Linked DNA regions of Homo sapiens: region 2 is linked to region 1. The links are contacts of gene promoters, found by promoter capture Hi-C in blood cells and fetal thymus (Javierre and others, 2016). All regions are on one chromosome and are shown on one strand. The core of a region is centred on a gene start or on the middle of the fragment in contact, and the rest is flanking DNA. Distances in the headings are between cores, read along the strand shown. Region 1 holds the start of DNAH9 (dynein axonemal heavy chain 9). Region 2 has its middle 47 kb from the start of PIRT.

Region 1 (6,213 bases), core at 1,429-3,928:
AAAAGAAAGAAATCCCGCATATGACGATAGGCGGTGACGATATGGATGAACCTTGAGGACATTATGCTAAGTGACATAAGTCAGTCAGAAGGAACAAATACTGCATGATTCCACTTATATGATGAGTCAGGTTCATAGGAACAGAAAGTAGAATGGTGCTAGCCAGGAGCTCAGGGGAGCGATGTGTGGCTTGCTGGGTGTGTGTGGAGTTTCAGTGATGCTGGACGGGGCAGTTCTGAGGATGTGTTGCACAATAATGCATATGTGGTTGACAATATTGTACTCTACACTTGGAAATTGTTGGGTGAATTTTACGTCATGTGTTTTTTTTGCCACAAGGAAAAAATTACCCTAAGGAATAACTCCGGTTGGACATGGTGGCTCACACCTGTAATCCCAGCACTTTGGGAGGCCAAGGCAGGAGGATCACTTGAGTCTAGGAGTTTGAAACCAGCCTGGTCAACATAGCAAGACCCTGCCTCAAAAAAAGGAATATTCCATATCAGTCATTCTTTTTAATAGTTGCAAAGTATTTCACTGTATAGATGGCCCATAATTCAGTCACCCAGTCCCCTGTTGATGAACATTGTTTGTCTCCAATCTCTTTCAATGCACCAATGAAAATTCTTAAACATTCGAGAATTTTCATTATTTTAAAATTATTTTTCTTGCTGGACTACTTTGCTTGGCCATGACACAACTCTGAGATGGGCCTTCTGTCTCCCACATACACTAGGTTAAATCCTGTCTCTGAACCTTTGATCAGTCTGCTCTCAGTATCTTGAAAGTTACCTTGCTCTCTACTTATACAAATTCTTCTAATTGTTCAGGAGACAATTCAACACTTATGTTAAGCATGCTTCTCAGATCACAGGCCTGTCTTTCTCCTCTGAAGCCAAAAGTACTTTCTATCGTCAACATTCATTAGAGAAGCTGATCTAAGTTCAGGCTTCAGCGGGATGGCTTTCAGACAATGCACAGTTGCAAGACCATTCTGTTTGTTAAAATATTGAAATACCTCCATATCTAAGAGATCTAGCTTCCTGGGCCCTCTGTGTCCTCCTCTATCTATCCAACCCTTTCCCTGGAATTTTCACCTCCCCACAGCCTCCTGATACACCATCTAAAGGGCTTACACTTGACATAGCAGGGAGACTCCAGGACTTGCATCCAGCAGTGGGGCCAACTTTTAGGTAAGCTTTACCCTCACCCCAGTCTTAAAAGTTTGAAACATTTTGAATATATGAATTATTACATACGTTTCAGCTCCTTGGAGTAAGCATTTCATGGGTGGGAATAGTTCTTTGGTATTCCCTATAGCACCTATCACCTGAACCATCATACAGCCAGTATTCTGCCCATCCTTATTTCACAACCTGCAGGGTCCAGGGCATCAAGCCTCCATAAGCACACAGCCTGACTTGCAGGGCAGTTTACTCCCATTCCAGAAAGGTCTAAGGGGCCCAGGAATCTCTCTGGAGCACTTCCCTGAAATCTCCTGCATTCTCGAAGCTTCTGCTGTGGTGCCACTAAAGCACTCATGACCCACATCTCCACCTTCCTCCCTGAGCTTCAGGCAGACTCCTCCAAAGGCCTGCTGGGCATTTCCAAATGGGAGCCCAACTTCTTATGCTGGCACAGGGCTGACCTTTGCTAAATGGTTGGTAATGAATGAATGAGATGAAAATCAAAAGCAAATCACTACCCACCTCCCCCTCCCATTTAACTGCTCTCCAGAAGTAGGCACTGTTTATAGCCATCCACCTCCTTCCACCCCACTGATCCATCAGAAATGCCGTCTTGTCCACTTCCCATCTTCTTCAGATCTTTCCAATTTACAGGAGGGATTACGAGAGGCTGATTTTGAAAGTAGTCAGAACCTAGGCACTCTTCAGATTATGGTCTTCCCCTGACTTTGGCTGGAACCCAGACCCGGACTGACCCAAGCCTCAGCTCCTTCCCATTCTCATTCTGGCCTGGCCTCCACCCAGATCCCTCCCTCCGGACCCACCCGACTCCGCCCCTAACCCCATCCCATTTTCTTCCTGACTTCAGGAACTTCCCTCCTGGTTGTGCTCCCTCCACAGCCTCGCCCCTCTGCCTATCACTCCGCCTCTTGGACCTCCCCTGCAGCTTCGCCCCGCCCCCTCTGGCCCCGCCTCCGTCCCTTAAGGCTCCTCCTCCCCTCCCCCACCCAGCTTTAGCCGCGCGGGGACACTAACCCACCCTCACCTCCGAGAACAGCGCGGCTAGGTGCTCCAGAGGTGCCGCGGGCAGGTCCCCGCAGACCACTGCGCCGCGGAAGCTGTCGGGCCCTGGAGGCTCGGGCCCGGTGCGAAGGAAAAAAAGCGCCTTAGCGCCAGCCAGGCCCGACTCAGGTCCCACCTCCAGCCCGGGGCGTATTGCCAGGCCCCTGGGCCCGGGCCGCACCACCAGCAGCGGCCGCGGCCCCTCGGCAGCATCGCGGCCCAGGAAGGCCTGGAGCAGCTGCTCCGCCTCAGCACTCCCCGCGCAACGCTCCCAGGCGCCCGCAGCCGGCCGCAGGCTCATGGCCACGTAGGTCCCCAGGAGTCGCAGTCGTCGGTCGGCGCCGGGTTCCCCATCCGCGTTCTCCGCCGCGAGCGCGGCCCGCTCCTCCGCGAGCCGCATCGCGCGCGGCCTCCAGCTGCATCGGTTTCCCTAGCGACGGGGACGCGGCCAGGACTCACTCCTCTGCTCCCTTCCTATTGGGCACGGACCCCTGGTCCCGCCCCTTCCAGGCTAATAAGGTAGGAGGTGTACGCGGGAAGGGGCGGGGTCGCGTCGCTGTTGCTAGGACACCAGCCGAGACTCGTACTCAGTGTCTGCCTGGTGTATTGGGAGTGCTGAAGTGTGACCGTGGAGCGCAATGGCTTATTGATGGGCTGCGTGGAGAGGAGATCAAGCATATAAATGCTGTTAAGGATCGTTTTGGCCAAGGTCGAATTAGAGTCTTTAGAGGTCTCCAGACACTGAAAATAGTGTGGTCCTCTTACCTCTATCCTAAATGTGCAATCCAGACTTAAACACAATGCCAAATCATAAAACAGATTTAAGGACATTCAGTGAATTTTATTTCTTTTCCATGATGGCAAATTAAACACTTCAGAACAGTGCTGTCCAGTAGAACTTTCTGCGATGATGGAAATGTTTTCCATCTGTTCTAGCCACGCATGGCCTATAAAGGAGGTGAAATATGCTCGTCCCACTGAGGAAATTTTTAATTTTACTTAATTTTCACTTAAAATTAAATAGTCACATGTGACTGTAGTTATATCGAACAGCTCAGCTTCAAAATTTTAATATCAAGTTTTTTTAAGTTTTCTTCCGTGCCTTTCTTTGCCCATGTTTTTTAAGGCATGTGCTTAATCTTCTAAAAATGTAACCAAACTGTAAGAGGCTTGTTTTTGAGACAGAGTCTTACTCTGTTGCCCAGACTGGAGTGCAGTGGCCGGATCATAGTTCACCGCAGCCTCAAATCCCTGGGCTCAACTGATCCTCTGGTCTCAGATTCCCTAGGAGCTGGGAATACAGGCGCCACCACATCCAGCTAATTTTAAAAATTTTTTGTAGAGATGAGGTCTCGCTGTGTTGTCCAAACTGGTCTTGAAGTCCTGGACTCAACTGATCCTTCTGCCTCAGCCTCCCAAAGTGCTGGGATTATAAGGATGAGCCACCATGCTAGAGTTTTTGACTTCCATGGGTATGACCACTAATCAGTTCTTACTAAATGTAGCAAAGTACTTGTAAATATGCAGGATGCTCAGAACCTTCCCATCCTGCCCTATACCTGGATATTGGCTTCAAAAAGGGATAATATAAAGTGCCTTGCCTGACCTCAGAAATTAGCATTTGTTACCTGCTTAGTCCTTCTCCATGGTCAGGATAAACAGCTTGGCCCTTTGCATGCATGTAAGGTGACAGTGCATGGGTGCTGAAAAAATGGACAAACAACTTGGGCAGCATGAGGTCTGCAGGACTGAATGAGCTCCCCTCTGCCCTGCCATCCTCCCTTTAGTCACCTCCCAGGGACTGCTGAGTTTCTGGGTAAAAGGAATGTTTATAATGGGTTTCAAAGGAATATTAACAGAATAAGCACTTATCAATGGTAGCTTGGCTAACAAGAGCCCCTCGGGAAAACACCAGTGGTTGGGAAGTAAAATGATTGATTTCATAATAACTGGAGCAAAGGAGTTGCTGTAATAAAAAATGTTCATGTTAGAAATGAATCTTTATGTTTGTAAAGGGTGTTTCATCATTGCTGGATTAAACAATAATCAACCAACTATGAGGAAAGGGAAAAAGTGGGAAACTAAAACAATCTTTAGGATGAATTTGGTAACTGACATTTCAAGAAGAAGCATCAGGGAAAAATAGTAATGTCAGGGGCTTCTTACACATATCGTTTTTTGTTTATCTTTGCACATAGGAAGGCATCGTTATTGTTTTAGTGCTTAGGGACTTCAAATGTGTCAACTATGCTCATGTTTCGTATACAGAGTGACTTCAGGACCATTAACTTTCAGTAAACCCTTGAAATAAAATTTCTGCCACCGCACTGTGGCTCTATTATGCCGTTAATCTCCTATGTCCCCTTGCCCCAACATACATAAAAATAGGAACAAAGGAGTCTGTGAATATGACTTAAAGATTTCTGTGTAAGGTGAAGGCTCCTGAATATTAGCAATCCCAGTTTTTAATTTTCTCTCCAAAAAGATACCTTATCTGCATTTTAGAAGGTGATTGGTGGGAGGCATTGATATGGGATTATTGAAAACAACTGACATTTTAAAATATTGTATAATTATGACAAAAATATCCCCAAAATATATTAGTTATCTATCACTGTATAACAAATTACCCCCAAACTTATCAGCTTAAAATAGCAATAGACATTTATCTCACACAGTTTATGGGGGGGTCAGGAATTTAGGAGCTGCTTAGCTCGTAGTTATTGCACAAGGTTTCTCATGATGTTGCAGGCAAGATGTCATCAGGGGCTACATCATCTGAAGGCTTGACTGGGGCTGGAGGAGACACTTCCAAGATGGCTTACTCACATGGCTAGTTGGTTAGTGCTGGCTCTTGGCAGTAGACTTCAACTTCTTAGCATGTGGAGCCCCCATTGGGTATCTGAGTGTCTTTGTAATGCTGTGACTGTCTTCCCCCGGAAGAAGTGATCTAAGAGAGAGCAAGGCAGAAGCCTACAGTGTCTCTTATGACTAGCCTTGGAAATCACACACTGTCATTTCTGCAATTATCTTATTAGTTACAGAAGTCTTCCCTATTCAATATGAGAGGGAATTACATGAGGATGTGAATACCAGGAGACAAGAATCACTGGGTACCATCTTGGAGGCAGGCTACCACAAAAAGTAAGGGAAAGAATGAATTTGCATAAGATGTTCAGCTAAAATAATTTCCATTTTTTAAATTGGAAACTTGAACTCAGTCCCATGAGCGTAATATTTGTAGTAATCATATTTTTTGTTTTAAATGACTATGCACAATTCCTGTTTGAGACTTTTGGTCATGATCTCTTTAAATTCTGGATAGTCGCTCGTGATGAGAAATTTGTTCCCACAAGCAAGTAATATGAAAGTTAAAGCCTTTCAAAACCATTCATAAATTAGCAGTTGACATTATATTTACAGAATCTAACAGCTCTTTCTTTTCTTCCTTGACAAATGTTACATTGAAAATCTTTTATGCTGCTAATAGATACTGAATCTAACCCAATCTTTTCATATCAAATATTTCAAAATAATGATGAAGTTCTAATTCAAATAATGTGCATGAATTATTAGAATAACCTCCTTTCAGCTATCTTGGATACTATTAATGTGAACATCAGACACAAATAGGGATCTCTATGGGATCCAAGAATAGAAGGACAGTGTATGCTGCCTGTGACTCCATCCAGGAGACATGCATAAGAACATCAATGGTTGCATTGTAGCAACTGCAAAATAATGGGAAGCAAACCAAGTGTCCATCAATAGTAGAATGGATGAGTAAATTGTGTTATATACTATTCATGACGTATAATACTCTACAGCAGTAAAAATAAATAGACAGTAGTCACATGCATCAACATGGGTAAATCCTAAAAGCATAATGTTGAATAAAAATAGGAAAGTTACAGAATAATTTAGTGTTACATTTGTTAGAAGTTTTAAACTAGACAATATGTTG
Region 2 (6,213 bases), core at 2,738-5,237, 710 kb after region 1:
TGTTAACCATGGTATAAGGTAAAGATTTAAGCAATAGTTTTCCATGCTTCTGATTTAAGTTTAAAATTTTCAGGAAGAGCAGAATGTGTCAGTTAGTTAGCTCTTTGCCTTTTTTTTTTTTTTGAGATTATGTAAGCTGTTTACTCTCACAAATACTCAGGTGAGTTTGAGTGCTGTTCACTGGCTCACCCATCGATATTTCATGCAGTCATTAATCGTTCACAGATTATTTATCCTCTGCACATGCCCTCTAATATTCCTTTATCTTAGTTGGTTGGCTTGAGTTATAAGTTCCAATGCCTACGAGAAGCAGACCCATAATATAGAAATTAAGAGTCCCCACCATCCCCATTTAACATAGCACTGGAAGTCCTAGCCAGAGAAATCAGGCAAGAGAAATAAATAAAAGGCATTCAAATAGGAAAAGAAGAAGTCAAGCTATCTTTGCTGATGATATGATTCTATGCCTAGAAAACCCTAAAGACTGTGCCAAAAGGCCCTAGAGCTCATAAATGACTTTGGTAAAGTTTCAGGATGCAAAATCAATGTACAAAAATCAGTAGCATTTCTATACACCAATAACATTCAAGCTGAGAGCCAAATCAAGAACACATTCCCACTTACAAAAGCCACAAAAGAATAAAATACTTAGGAATATAGTCAACTAAAGAGGTGAAAAATCTCTACAAAGAGACTTACAAAACACTGCCAAAAGAAATCACAGACTACACAAATAAATGTAAAAACATCCCAAGCTAATGGATTGGAAGAATCAACATCATTAAAATGACCATACCGCCCAAAGCAATTTACAGGTCCAACACTATTCCAAACTGTCAAAGTCATTTTTCACAGAATTAGAAAAAACTATTCTAAAATTCACAAGAAACCAAAAAAGAGCCTGACCATACTGCCCCAAGCAATCTACATATTCAGTGCTATTCCTATCAAGTGACTGATGTCATTTTTTACAGAATTAGCACAAAAAAATTCTAAACTTCATCTGGAACCAAAACAGAGCCCAAACAGCCAAGGAAATGCTAATCAAAAAGAACAAAGCTGGAGGCATCACGCTACCCAACTTCAAACTATACTATAAGGCAACAGTAATCAAAACAGCATGATACGGGTACAAAAATAGACACATAGACCAATGGAACAGAATAGAGAACTCAGAAATAAAGCTGCACACCTACAACCATCTGATCTTTGACAAAGTTTAGAAAAATAAGCAATGGGGAAGGGACTCCCTATTCAATAAATGGTGCTGGGATAACTGGCTAGCCATATGCAGAAGAATGAAACTGGACCTCTACCTTTCACCACATGCAAAAATTAACTCAAGATGGACTAAAGACTTAAAGGTAAGACCTCGAACTGTAAGAATCCTAGAAGAAAACCTAGGAAACACCATTCTGGACATTAGCCTTGGGAAATAATTTATGAATAAGTCCTCAAAAACAATTGCAACAAAAACAAAAATTGACAATTGGGACCTAATGAAACTAAAGAACTACACAGCAAAAGAAATTACCAACAGAGTAAACAGACAACCTACGCAATGGGAGAAAATACTTACAAACTATGCATCCAACAAAGGTCAAATATCCAGAACCTATAAGTAACTTAAATAAATCAACAAGCAAAAAACAAATAACATCCTTAAAAAGTGGGCAAAGGACATGGACAGACACTTCTCAAAAGAAGACATACAAGCAGCCAACAAACATATGGAAAAATGCTCATTATCATTAATCAACAGATTAATGCAAGTCAAAACCACAATGAGATAGCATCTCACATGAGTCAGAACGGCCATTATTAAAAAGTCAACAAACAGCAGATGCTGGAGAGGCTGTGGAGAAAGGAAAATGCTTATACATTGTTGGTGGGAATGTAAATTAGTTCAGCCACTGTGGAAAGCAGTTTGCAGACTTCTCAAAGAACTTAAAACAGAACTACCATTTGACCTAGTAATACCATTACTGGATGTATATTCAAAAGAAATAAATCATTCTACCAAAAAGACACAAGGACATACCATCCTGAACATGCCTGATCTCATCTGATCTCAGAAGCTAAGCAGGGTCAGGCCTGGTTAGTACTTGGATGGGTGACACATGCACGTGTATGTTCATCACAGCACTATTCACAATAGCAAAGACAGGGAATCAACACCAGTGCTCATCAGTGACAGTTTGGATAAATAAAATGTGATACATATACATCATGGAATGCTATGCAGCCATAAAAAAGAACAAAACCATGTCCTTTGAAGCAACATGGATGCAACTGGAGGCTGTTATCCTAAGCGAATTAATGAAGGAACAGAAAAACAAATACTGCATGGGAACTAAACAATGGGTATTCATGGACATAAAGAAGGGAACAATAAACACTGGGAACCACTAGAGGGGAAAGAGAGGGAGGCAAAGATTGAAAAACTACCTATTGGCTACTATGTTCACTATCTGCATGATGGGATCAATCATACCTAAACCTTAACATCATGCAACATGTCCAAGTAACAAACCTGAACATGTACCCCCTGATTCTAAAATAAAAGTTGAAAAAGAAATACATAACCACCTACGGGTGTTCCTAAGCAGAAAATAGAATCTCGCATTTATTTTGGCACCTAAAAAAAAATTGGGCTGAGTGCCTGTAATCCCAGCACTTTGGGAGGCTGAGGCGGGCAGATCGCCTGAGGTCAGGAGTTCAAGACCAGCGTGGCCAACATGGTGAAACCCTATCTAAAAATACAAAAAATTAGCTGGGCGTGGTGGTGGGTGCCAGTAATCCCAGCTACTTAGGAGGCTGAGACAGAAGAATCACTTGAACCTGGGAGGCAGAGGTTGCAGTGAGCCGAGATCACACCATTGCACTCTGGCCTGGGCAACAAGAGTGAAATTCCGTCTCAAAAAAAAAAAAAAAAAAAAAAAAAAATTGGTAGTCCCAAGAGGCTTACTTGGAGGGATATGTAATGACTTAAAGTATGTACTCCATCTGCAGGGGGCGCCATGACTCAACTCTAGCCAATGGTTGCTATGTAGAATGTCAGAGTTCCTGTGCCTGGGTCTTTTTATATTCCTCTGCCCACAAAAAAAAAAAAAAAAAAAAAAAAAAGTCATTAATCTGTAATTTTGCATGAAATTTCCTGATTTGCAAAACACTATGTGATCCAAACAGCATATGCCTGTGGGTAATTTTCTATCCAGTCTGTGACTCCTGTATGACCATCTGCAACAGACCCTAGGATCCAGGTCTTGAATTAGCTCACCAGAGAGCTGAACAGCACAGCCCATAATCTAAGAGCAGACAGCCCTGAGCAGGTGAGGATGGGCAGCTGTGGGGCACAGCGGCAGGAAAGTTCTGTGTCTGATGAAGTCTCAAGCATTGAGCCAAGGAAGAAAGGAACTATCTGTCCTGTCAGAAAACTACAATGCTCAACAAGTCCTTGTGGTCTCAATTTTAACATTTTTGGTTATCACTGCAACAGTAGCATCTGCTCGGGCAATATGAGACAGGACTCTGGGAACATTATGTGACACCTTTTATCTCAGCTCTGGGTGAGGTGAACTGCAAGTACAACTATTTACAGGCAAGACAATCACAGGTACAGAGGTGTGTCAACATGCTCGGTGAAATTCAGAGGGAATCTGACCAAGAGCTTAGACAGATTTCCAAAAGGGTAGTGTGAGGTGTTAGAAGAAGCAGAGCCGATAGGAAAACTCATAACAGCATGTGCCTCCTCAGAAGCATCTTTTGTTTATTTGGCAAGGATGCAGCAAGAGCTTGGCTAGACCCCAGGGATATGCCAGTGAACCACACTGACCATGTTCATCAGTGGAAGTCAAAGTCAAGAGGAGGCCCCTGAGTTCTGCACTGTCCAGGCAAGATCACCCTTCACCCAGCCCTGCCATTCTGACAGCAGGACTCCCTAAACTCATCCCTCAGTACCCTGCCTTTCATCCCCTAAACCTCTGTGAACCCCATAATCTGACTACCCCCAACTTCCCAAACCCACCCACTGGGTCACTGGAATGCATGATCTATTATCAGCAAAATCTCTTTATCTTCGATTGCAACTGTAAACATTCCCCTTACCTTTCTGCCCTCACCGAATAAGGGGGCCATCAAGAGCAGAATGTGATGGAAAAATAATTATATTAATAGCAAACATTTATATGTGCAACCACTGTCCCAAGTCTAGTGCAAGCACAGCTCCTATATCTATTGCCTGAACTTCACAACAATTCCGTAAGCCCATTACCATTCTATCTTTTGATGAGGAAACAGAAGCACAAAGAGGTCGATTAATTAACCCAAGATCACAGAATTGAGAAGTAGTGCATTAGAAACACAGGACTTGAATCGAGACAGTTGGAGCCCAAACCCTGTGTATGTAACCACTGTGATATACAGTAGTACAGAATGGTCTGTGGTCAAAGACACAACTCCAGGAAGCAGCAACAGAGGCAACAACAGGGAGGAAGCATTAGGAGGGCTCCGCATCCACTGGGTTCCAGAACTAGCCCCTAAGAAAATCTCAAAGCTCCCCGCAAAGACACCATTTCCCCTGCTGTCCTCTGAAAAGGCAGCTGATTTTTTCATTCCCATACCCCTTGTTCCACTGGGCCTGGAGGTGAGGCAGGGCTCCTTTTTGCCCATTACTCCTTTTTGCCCGTTACTGATCTTCCATACCACTGCCCCCAACACTCCCGGTTTTAAGGGTCATGCGGCCATACCGAACAACCCACTACCCTCCTTGTCATAGTCAACTATTGAGCCCTGTGTCATTCCCCTCATTTCTACAAGATCCCGGCACCTGGGTCATGGTCACCCTCTCCCATACTACCTCAGCTGTGATTCTCAGTGATTTTGCTTTCCATAGAGAAATCCCTGCAAAGCCCTGGACTGCCCATTCCATGACCTCCTCTTTTCTGGGGATTGTTTTCCTCCATCCTAACTCATCCACTCTCCCTTATAGTCATGCCCTAGACCTTTTTACACAAGTAACTGCACTCTGTTATCTCAATTCTAAGAATCCTACTTTCCAACCACCACTTCTCATTTTCAGTTTGCCAATTCCAAAAATTATTGACCCCTCTATAAACTAAATACATGATTATATCTAAATATATGATCAATACATGGTTGTACTGTCCCTCAACTCCTCCATTGCCTCACTCTTCTTATCCAGCTTCCATTCAAGTAGGTGCTGTTACCATTACTCCCCAGAACATACTCCAGCTCCTTTTTTCCTCACTCCCTAATTCTCACCTAGGAAAAAAAACCCTCAACCCTTATTAAATCTCACTCTCTAACTATTCTGAACCTTTATCCAAGCAGCTGAACTTAGTGGGAGAAAAATACGCAAGCATATTGACTGGCCTATTTCAAATGCATGAGATCCTACCTCAAGGGGCCCAAATGCTACCTTCCAATCCTACTCCATTTCGCAAGTCATCCATTTATATGCTTTTCTGCCTAGTGTGATTGGAGAAAATCCAATTAAGAGACTAAACTATTATTTTGTAACTTCTTTCTCCTCCTCACTCTGGACTAAGAAAATAGAAGCAATCAGAAGAAAATGTTGCAGGCTTCCACCAAGACATCTACCACCCTCAGGGCATTTGTCCTAGAAGCTCTGCATTCCCACTCAACATCACAGATGAACTGAAAGCTCTAATGCCAGCCCTTCTGCTTGAACCCTAGGTCCTCATTCTCTTTTTCAATAACAAGGTCATTGATCGGTCAGCCACGCTGTCTCCTGCACCATCAAATTTTCTCTCTCTTCTTGACCTTTTCCATCCAATGCAAAACACAAACCCTTTGCTCACCCTTTACCTACTTCTAGTTCCCACTCATTTCTCTGCTCTCCTTTGCAGAATGGTCTCCAATTTCTGACCTCTTTTTCCATCTTGAACTCAATGCTTTTGGGCTTTTTTGCCCATCACCTCACCAAAACAGCCCTTATCTAGGTTTCCAATACCTCCATGTTACAAAGCCCAATCATCAATTCTCGGTCTTCATCTTACTCAGTCTCTCAGAAACATTTGACAATTTTTGTCCCTACCTTCTTCCTGAAAGTCTTTTATGATTTGCCTCCAGGATGCTCTTTTCTCTAGAGTCTCCTTCTACATCACTGGCCACTCCTTCTTGGTTGTTTCTCCTGGTCCCTGCTCAGATCTCAGACGTCTGAACATCAAT

What was found. The method cuts DNA at HindIII sites, captures the fragments that hold promoters and counts their contacts. A CHiCAGO score of 5 or more calls a contact.
Region 2: a contact is called between a fragment that was not itself captured here and the fragment with the promoter of DNAH9 in region 1, in 5 of 17 cell types (M2 macrophages, M0 macrophages, endothelial precursors and 2 more). The highest score is 10.1, in M2 macrophages.

What each region holds. Positions count from the first base shown.
Region 1 is chr17:11,594,935-11,601,147 of GRCh38, reverse strand. DNAH9 (dynein axonemal heavy chain 9) reads right to left here and starts at 2,678. Exons shown (of 69, transcript NM_001372.4): 1 at 2,233-2,678. The coding sequence starts at 2,649. The HindIII fragment of the contact is 5,374 bases long and covers 1,515-6,213 here.
Region 2 is chr17:10,882,204-10,888,416 of GRCh38, reverse strand. No RefSeq gene overlaps it. Among named protein-coding and RNA genes, the nearest start is that of PIRT, 47 kb to the right of the region's middle. The HindIII fragment of the contact is 8,278 bases long and covers 1-6,213 here.